Regions from separate parts of the Homo sapiens genome. Here region 2 is linked to region 1. Evidence: promoter capture Hi-C in 16 types of primary human blood cells and fetal thymus (Javierre and others, 2016). All regions are on one chromosome and are shown on one strand. Each heading gives the region's core, a stretch centred on a gene start or on the middle of the fragment in contact. The rest is flanking DNA. Distances are from core to core; before and after follow the strand shown. Region 1 holds the start of ZNF155 (zinc finger protein 155). Region 2 has its middle 2.4 kb from the start of ZNF233.

Evidence for each region. The method cuts DNA at HindIII sites, captures the fragments that hold promoters and counts their contacts. A CHiCAGO score of 5 or more calls a contact.
Region 2: a contact is called between a fragment that was not itself captured here and the fragment with the promoter of ZNF155 in region 1, in 1 of 17 cell types (naive CD8 T cells). The highest score is 5.2, in naive CD8 T cells.

The regions. Positions count from the first base shown.
Region 1 is chr19:43,982,490-43,987,508 of GRCh38, forward strand. It overlaps ZNF155 (zinc finger protein 155), which reads left to right and starts at 1,699. Exons shown (of 5, transcript NM_198089.3): 1 at 1,699-1,756. RefSeq lists a silencer at 1,396-1,595. The HindIII fragment of the contact is 8,717 bases long and covers 1-5,019 here.
Region 2 is chr19:44,255,219-44,259,825 of GRCh38, forward strand. No RefSeq gene overlaps it. Among named protein-coding and RNA genes, the nearest start is that of ZNF233, 2.4 kb to the right of the region's middle. The HindIII fragment of the contact is 5,812 bases long and covers 1-4,607 here.

The DNA of each region.
Region 1 (5,019 bases), core at 449-2,948:
GGCCGAGGTGGGCGGATCACAAGGTCAGATCGAGACCATCCTGGCTAACACGGTGAAACCTCTTCTCTACCAAAAATACAAAAAAATTAGCCGGGCATGGTGGCGAGCACCTGTAGTCCCAGCTACTCGGGAGGCTGAGACAGAAGAATGGCATGAACCTGGGAGGCAGAGCTTGCAGTGAGCCGAGATCGCGCCACTGCACTCTAGCCTGGGCGACAGAGCAAGACTCCGTCTCAAAAATAAAATAAAATAAAATAAAATAAAATAAAATAAAATAAAATAAAATAAAATAAAAGCCAGGCAGGCTATGATATTTTGTGACTAAAAAATATTGGTACTGAGAGGTGGGCTTGCTGCTGCAACAAATACCTAAAAATGTAGCAGTCTTTGGAACTATGTAATGGATAGAGTCTAGAAGAGTTTTTACATGTATGCTAGGAAAAGCCTACATTGCCATGAATGGACTGATAAGGACAATTCTGGTTAGCGCTCAGAAATAGAGAATAAGAACTGTAGAGAAAACATCAATCTTGTTAGAGCATACCTAGGTAGTCATGATCAGAATGTTGGTAGAAATATGGACAGTAAAGGCCATTCTGAAGACCTCAGTCAGAAATGTTGAACATGTTATTGGAAGAGAAGAGAGCTTCTTGTTATAAAGGGACAAAGAATTTGGCTGAATTATATTCAGGTGCTAGTGTTTTATGGAAGGTAGAATTTGTGAATGATATAATTGTTTATCTGAATTAATTTCTAATCAAAGTGTTGAAGTTGCTTGAATCATCTTGACTACCCGTAGTGAAAGGCACGAAGTGAGGAATGACTGAAATAATTATTAATTAAAAGGGAAACAGAACTAAAATTTTTAAAAGTTTACAGCCTATCTACTTTGGAAAAAAAAAAAAACAGGAAACCTGAAGAATACAAGGGTATGGTTAAGCAACTAACTAATTCATGAATTTAGTATGGATTGGCCATGTCAACTGAAGCCAGGACCTATTGTCCAAGACAATGGAAGAATGACCCCAAAGGCATTTCACAGATTATGGCAGCTTCTCCTCCCATCACAGGCCCAGAGTGCAAGGACCTGGGGGACAGAAAGGGCCTTTGATGCCAGATATACCCTAATATATTAGGCACAGTTTCCTGCCTACTACGATTGAGCGTGTCAATAAATTTTTATCTCTTGGGAGGGCAGAACAGAGCAAGGATACAGCTGTAACTGGTTTAGAAATAGCAGTCACTCAATTTTCAGAGAAGTGTTCCTCATACTGTGGTTGGCACAGTCACTTTATCTAAAGAAAACCATGAAAAGTATTCTTTTTTAGTTTAGAAAAATTGATATAGAACATGAGACTCCATTTTTTTAAAATAAAAATATAGGTTGATAGGCCAGAATTCACAGGTCCACCTGCCTGAGCCAAAATTCTCACGCCTCCACAGAGCAAATGGACTCCATTTCCCAAGATACCAGCGAAACGCCTGCGGGAGTCTAATTGCCCGGTCGATGCGCAGGAAATTTGGCTCCCGCAGGCGTTTCGCGAGTAGCTTGGGAGGCGTGGGAATTTTGGCCCAGGCAGGAGGACCTGTGAATTCTGGGAAGTGGAGTCCATTTGCTCTGTGGAGTCGTGGGAACTTTGGCTCAGGCAGGCGGATTCGGGGGATTCTGGGAAGTGTAGTCCAGACGCCTGTGGCATCATCGACACTTCCGGTCTCCGAGCAGGACACTGCTACTTAACAAGGTGGTTTGAGCCAAGTATGTGTCTTGCGGGTCTTTGCGAAAGTGAACCAGTTATTAGGGGCGCCTAACGACCTGGGGGGTCAACTAAGGGGGTAAGAAGCCCTGGAGAAGACCTGAGGTTTGGAGATGCGAGGGGTGGGAGGGAAGTTTCGTTGCCGTCGATGGAGCCTTCTGGCGTTGGGGGCTGTACTCAGGTCCACCGGAGGAGTCGTCGGGGGTTCGGGGGGGGCGGGGAAGAACTCTGTCTAGTCTTGTGTGCCTGTTTAGAGGGTTTTCCAGGTGTTTGACCTCGTTCAGTCCGCCTCCCTCCACTCTTAAGTGTGCGACCTCTTTCTCGCGATATAACGTGGGGTGTTACTTAATCTCCCTGTACCTCCCATTGCCGTTTTTTAAATGAGGATTTCAGGACCATCCTGATAGAATTGTTTTAGGAGTTGAAAGTTGTGGTATAAAACAAAGACTTAACAGCTCCTGTCACTTGGTGTCCTGTTAATTTCCCGCGAAGTGGTCAGGTGCCCGGGTGGGGTCAGAGCTCCAGCTGCTCCGGCCCTTCTCTTGGAGCCCGGCAGGGCTCTGGATGATCCCGGACGCCTCTGACCTCTTTTTAGGAAGGCGTGGGTTGCATCCACGTTTCACGAAGGGAGAGGAGCATTTAACTTGTATCCGGGACGGCGACGCAGAGTGTTTGACAGCTTTCTCCTTCCCCAGCCTGACTTTTCTAAAAGAGCTGCAGGGAGGGACTTGGCTACTGAGGACAAAGCTGTCTACACGAGTGGTCTTTGGCTTTTCTCTTTTTAAAAAAAAGTTATTTATTTTGTTAGTCTGTTTTTATTATTGTTATTATTTGAGAATGAGGTTTGCTCTGTCTCCCAGGCTGGAGTGCAGCAGTGGCGCGATCTTGGCTCACTGCAACCTCCGCCTCCTGGGTTCAAGCGATTCTCTGTCCTCAGCTCCGGAGTAGCTGGGATTACAGGCATGCGTCACCATGCCCGGCTAATTTTTGTATTTTTAGTAGAGACGGGGTTTCACCATGTTGGCCAGGCTGGTCTCGAACCTGTGGTCCTAAGTGATCCGCCTGCCTCGGCCTCCCAAAGTGCTGGAATTACAGGTGTGAGCCACCGCGCCGGGCCGGTTTTTTCTTTTACAGAGATGTTCACCTCAACCAAGAGTGTATAGGATGTGTCCTTGGGCATGGGTGTTGATAATAATTAAACCTTAATTGGTAACTTAATTCTAAGGGCTTTATGGAAATAAATACATTTACGCCACACCATGGCTCTGTGGAAAGGTATTGCTCTTTTTCTTTTTTTTTTTTTTTTTTTTTTCCTGAGACGGAGTCTCGCTCTGTCGCCCAGGCTAGAGTGCAGTGGCGCGATCTGGGCTCAGTGCAATAGGCCGCCTCCCAGGTTCAGGCGATTCTCCTGCTTCAGCCTCCTAAGTAGCTGGGATTACAGGTGCGCACCACCACGCCCAGCTAATTTTTGTATTTTTAGTAAAGATGGGGTTTCACCGTTTTGGTCAGGCTGGTCTGAAACTCCTGACCTCGTGATCCGACCGCCTTGGCCTCCGAAAATGCTGGGATTACAGGCGTGAGCCACCGCGCCCGGTCGCTCTTTTCCATTTTAAATATGGGAGTGAGACACCTGGTGCTTAGTTCCCAGTAGAATGAGGTACAGCTGGAGCTGGAACCTAGGCAGTTTGGGTCAGAGCCTGAGTTGATCATCCCTTGGATACATTTTCATTGAGGTAGAGGAACTAGCTGGAATCAGGTGGGGAAAGAGAGTTAGGACTTGATTGAAGGGACCTTGAGAGCAAGGCTCATAGACTTGGACTTCTGTAGGAGTCTTTTAAAAATTTGTCAACATCCTGTTTCACTTTTTATAAGGATTTTGTATTGTGGAACCATATCATTGTGGAGCATTTTAAAATTAGATTAATAGGAGGAGAAAACATGTTTTAAATTACCCATGAATCCAAGATGTGAAGGTGCTAACTGTCTGATACAAGAGATGGAACTTCCAGTTCTCCTCCGTTTCTTTTTAGTCTTTCTCTGTGTCTATTGTATATTTATTTATAAGCATTTAAAAAAATTGTTATAATATCTTAATGTGTTTTCCCATATTTCTTTAACTATGGAAATTTTTAAATACTGCTAATAGAGAATAAACTAGTAAACTGCCATATTATGTCATGCTCATCCAATATTATTCCCATTTGTGTTTTTTTTTTTTTTTTTTTAGACGGAGTCTCGCTCTGTCACCTAGGCTGGAGTGCAGTGGTGCGATCTCGGCTCACTGTGAGCTCCGCCTCCCGGGTTCACACCATTCTCCTGCCCCAGCCTCCTGAGTAGCTGGGACTACAGGTGCCGGCCACCATGCCCGGCTATTTTTTTGTATATTTAGTAGAGACGAGGTTTCACTGTGTTAGCCAGGATGGTCTCGATCTCCTGACCTTGTGATCCGCCCACCTCGGCCTCCCAAAGTGCTGAGATTACAGGTGTGAGCCACGGCGCCCAGCCCCCATTGTTATCATCCTTATGACTATTTCCTGATAGTTGAAAACCTTTCATTTTTATATCATTTCAAAGCTGTAGAAGAGTTGCAAAAATAGTATAAGGAATTCTCATATACTCTTTACCCAAATTTGCCGATTGTTTACATTTTTCCTGTTTGCTTTGTTGGTGGCCATCAGCCAAATACTACCAGGAACATATCTGTAACCAGAGACGATTGTAGATTTCTGCAGCAAGGAAGCCCACATTCCATGGTGATCATGGGGTGACTTGGTAAGAGGTGTTTAGAAAGGGCAGGTTATAGGGTCTCACGTAACATGCTAGACAATATTAAGATATCATATTAAATGATATTTATTAAATATTAGATATCTGTTTAAAAAACTACTAATTGTGCTTATAGTGTTATAATTAGATAGTGCTAGATAGCATATTCCATAACATCATGTTATCTCATATGTGGTTCCATAATTAAATTTGTTCAATTTTTTCATTTATAGTCCTCACAACTATCTTCTACCCTACCCTTTACCCTGACCCCAGTTTAAAGTCTAATTATATGCATTGTGTTTACTCGTCACATTTCTGTCTTCTTTAATCTGGAAGGATTTCACAGCCTTTTTCTTTAATATATGTGGTATTTTTAAAGAGTGTAGGCAAGTTATTTTGGAGAAAGACGTTCATTGGGATTTATCTGATATATCTCATGTTTAGGTTCAGATCATGCATTGTTATTGCTTCTGGGCCTTATGCATTGTTGGTGCGG
Region 2 (4,607 bases), core at 1,034-3,533, 270 kb after region 1:
AAACCCTATTTCAAAGTAAGGTCATGTTCACAGGTTAGGACTTCAACATATCTTTTTGGGAGACAAAATTAAACCTGTAACAGTCACTAAACAAACCATTACGATCCACAATAAGATAAGAACAAACTGAGCAGGAGGAAGAATCTGACTTTAAGAGATACCACATTATAAAACAAACAAAAAAAAAGTACACAGCATGCAAATAAAAAATTATGGTCCATTCCCAGAATAAATGAACAGAAACTGTCCCCAAGGAAACACAGACACTGGACTTACCAGACAAAGACTTTAAATAAACTGTCTTAAATATTCTCAAAGAACTAGAGGAAACCATGAACAAAAATAATAAACCAGGAGAATCATGTCTGAAAAAAAGATATCAAATAGGTAGAAATTATTTAAAAACCATGAATTTTGGACCTGAAGAGTATAATAACTGAAATGAAAATTCACTAGAGGATTTCAACAGTATATTTAAGCAAGCAGAAAAATCAGTGAACTAAAGGATAAGTAAATTGAAGTTATTCCATCTGAGGAGCAGAAGAAAAAGTAAGTAGAACTCAGATACCTGTGGGATGCCATCAAGCATATCAGCATATGCACAATGGGAGTCACAATAAGAGGAGAGAGAAAGGAGTATAAGGAATATTTGAAGAAATAATGTTCAAAAACTTCTCAAACTTATAAGACATGAATCTACACATAGAAGAAGCTCAAGGAACTAACTCCAAGAAGAATAAATGCATAGAGATCCACACCAAGACACATTATAATCAAACCATAAAAAGACAGAGACTCAAAATCAACAAGAGAAAGTGACACCTCATGTTCAAAGCCTCTATAATAAGATTAATAACCCATTTCTCATCAGAAACCATGATCTCCAGAAGCCAGTATGATGACATATTTAAAGTAATGAAATAAAAAAAACCTGTTAGCCAAGAATCCTATATCTGGCAAAACCATCCTTCAAAAATGAAGGAGAAATTAAGACATTCCTAGATAAACAAACACTGAGGGAGTTCATTGCTAGTTGGCCTGCCCTACAAGAAATACAAAATACTTCAGGCAGAAGTGAAAAAACACTAAATCTTGAAGCCATATAAATTAATAAAGAACACTGGTAAAGTAATTACATAGGTAAACACAAAAGCCAATATTATTGTATTATTGGCTCATAACTCCTATATGATTTAAAGAAAAATGAGTAAAATAGTTACAAATCTATGTTAATGGGGCACACAATGTATAAAGATGTAATTTTTCAAATCCTAAAGGGAGGAGGACAGAGATACGGGAGCAGGATTTTTTATATTTTGGAAGCTAGGTTAGTATTAATTCAAGCTATATTAACTTCTTTAATGTATTACAATATAGTTTGAATTAATACTATTCAACACTTTTGCATCTTTAAATTTTTTCATAATAAAATTTGGAAAAATAGGCCAGCTGTGGTAGCTCACATCTGTTATCCCAGCACTTTGGGAGGGTGAGGCAGGAGGATTGCTTGAGGCCAGGAGTTTGAGAACAGCCTGGGCAACATAGTGAGACCCTGTCTCTACAATTTTTTTTTTAATTAGCTGGGTGTGATGGCACATTTTTGTAGTCCTAACTATGCAGGAGTCTGAGGCTGGAGGACCACTTGAGCCCAGGAATTTGAGGCTGCAGTGAGCCAAGATCACACCCATTGCACTCCAGCCGGGGTGACAGAGTAAGACCTTGTTTCAAAAAAGAAAAAAAGACGTTAACTGTATACCACAGGGTAATCACTAAGAAAATATACAGAAAAGGGAATAAGAAGAAAAATTAAATGGTACACTACAGGTCGGGCATGGTGACTCACGCTTGTAATCCCAGCATTTTGGGAGGCCAAGGTGGGTGGATCACTTTAGGTCAGGAGTTCAAGACCAGGCTGCCCAACATGGTGAAACTCTGTCTTTACTAAAAATACAAAAATTCGCTGGGCATTGTGGTGCATGCCTGTAGTCCCAGCTACTTGGGAGGCTGAGGCATGAGAATCACTTGAACCCAGGAGGCAGAGGTTGCAGTGAGCTGAGATCACACCACTGCACTCCAGCCTGGGTGACAGAGTGAGACCCTGTCTCAAAATGGAAAAAAAAAGAAAAAGGTACGCTGCAAAAACATCAAACAGAAAAGAAGGCATTAATCAAGAGACCTAGGAAAGAAGGCATTAATCAAGAGACCTAGGAACAAAAAAGATAAGCCATGTAGAAAACAGATCACAAAGTGAAAGAAGCAAGGCCGTTTTAAAATCAGGAATTAATTTAAATGCAAATAGATTAAGCTCTCCAGTTAAAAGGCAAAAATGGACAGAATGGATAAAACAGCATGATCCAACTATATGCTGTCTATAAGAGACTTATTTGCAATCCAAAGACAAAAAATGTTGAGTGAAAAAATGGAAGAAAATTATTCCATGCAGGATGTAAAAAAAGAGAACTGAAGTAATTGTATTAATATTAGACAAAATCGACTTAGGTAAAAAACTTGACAAGAGACAAACAATGACATTATATATTGACAAAAGAGTCAATCCATCAAGAAGATATAACAATACAGACATTACACAGCTAGTCCCCAAATATATGGTGTGAAAATTGATGGAACTGAAGGGAGACATAAATATTTCTACAATGTTTTCAGACTTCAGTATCTCACTTTCAATAATGGATACAACAACCAGACAAAAGATCAATAAAGAATTAGAGGATTTGGAAACATAAACCAAACTCCTAGCAGATATATACAAAGCACCCCACCTAAAACCAGCAGAATACATATTTTTCTTAAGTGGTCATGAAACATTTTCTGGGATAGATCATACATTAGGCCACAAAACAGGTCTCAATAAAAATAAAAAATCTCACGTATCAACAGAAAGATAAAGTCACATGAAATGTATTCTCAGGCCACAAAAAAATGAAACTCAAATCAGTAATGAGGAAAACTGGAAAATTCACAAATGTGTGGAAATTAAACAGCACACTCATAAAAACCGATGGGGATAGAAGTTACAGGGAAATTAGAAAATACTTTGAGATGAAAACAAAACATGATTCAGGATTCCTTTGGTGCTAAAATAATAAAATTCTGCTGACTGAGCTAAAAAAATTTGTGATAGAAAATATCAAAGGCAGTTCCCCACTCTATACACAATACCCACCCCCATAACTTAAATAAAACAACTTTCTCCTTTCTAGAGAAAATCACATTGGAAACAAAGCCTCTGCAAGAAGTCCTGATATATGTGCTTTTACAAGGCTGCTAAATATTACTTCATTTTTGATACCACATTGACTTGATCTATTGATGATCATTCTATTGCATTTATCATCTCAAGAGCAAGCTGAGTGGATACAAAAAAAAATTTAAATTGAAATAAGGGAAGAAGCATTTTCAAGATATAATTTAGATGTTGTTTTTTTCCAAATTACAATACAGTTGGCTCTTGAACAACACAGGTTTAAACTGCATGGGTCCACTTATATGTGAATTTTTTTTCAACAAATATATTGCAATTTTTTTTGGAAATTTGCAACAATTTGAAAAAGCTCACAGATAAGCCGTGTAGTCTAGAAATATCAAACAATTAAGAAAAATTTAGGTATATCATGAATGCATAAAATATATGTAGATATTAGTCTATTTTATCATTTACTACCATAAAATATACATGAATCTATTAAAAAAAGGTAAAACTTATAAAAACTTACACACACAAACACAGACTGTACGTTCACAGTCAAGAGAAATGTAAAACAAAGATGCAATATTAAATCAAGCCTGCATAAAGTTAACTGTAGTACATGCTGTGCTACTGTAATAATTTAATAGCTATCTCCTGTCACTGTTGTGGTGAGCTCATGTGTGTAAATATCTGCTTAAAATTCCAAGTAATGCTAATCATCTCAAAGTGAGCAGTTCATCTCTCTAGTAAATTGCGTATTACAGTAAAAAGTGATCTAAAGGTTTCTTATTTTTTATTGTGTTTAGTGCAATACTATAAAACTTGAATACTACCATGGGACCTATGTGAACTGCCACTAGTGATGTTGCAAGTGCTCCCAAGATGCATAGAAAAGTCATGACATTATAAGAAAAAGTTGAATTGCTTGATATGTACTGTAGAATGAGGTCTGAAGCTGCAGCTGCCTGCCATTTCAGAAAGATGGTTTATTTTGTAAACAGATGGTGTAAACTTACAGTATCAATACCGTACAGAACTGTAAATATTTCTCTTCTTCTTGATTTTCTTTTTTTCTTTTTTCTTTTTTTTTTGGAGCTGGAGTCTCACTGTCGCCTAGGCTGGAGTGCAGTGGCACGATATTGGCTCACTGCAACCTCTGCCTCCTGGGTTCAAGCAATTCTCCTGCCTCAGCCTCTGGAGTAGCTGGGATTACAGGCATGTGCCACCACGCCCAGCTAATTTTTGTATTTTTAGTAGAGACGGGGTTTCACCATGTTGGCCAGGCTGGTCTCAAACTGCTGACCTAGTGATCCACCCCCCCTTGGCCTCCCAAAGTGCTGGGATTACAGGCGTGAGCCACTGCACCTGGCCCCTCTTGGTCCCTCTTGGCTGGGCAGGG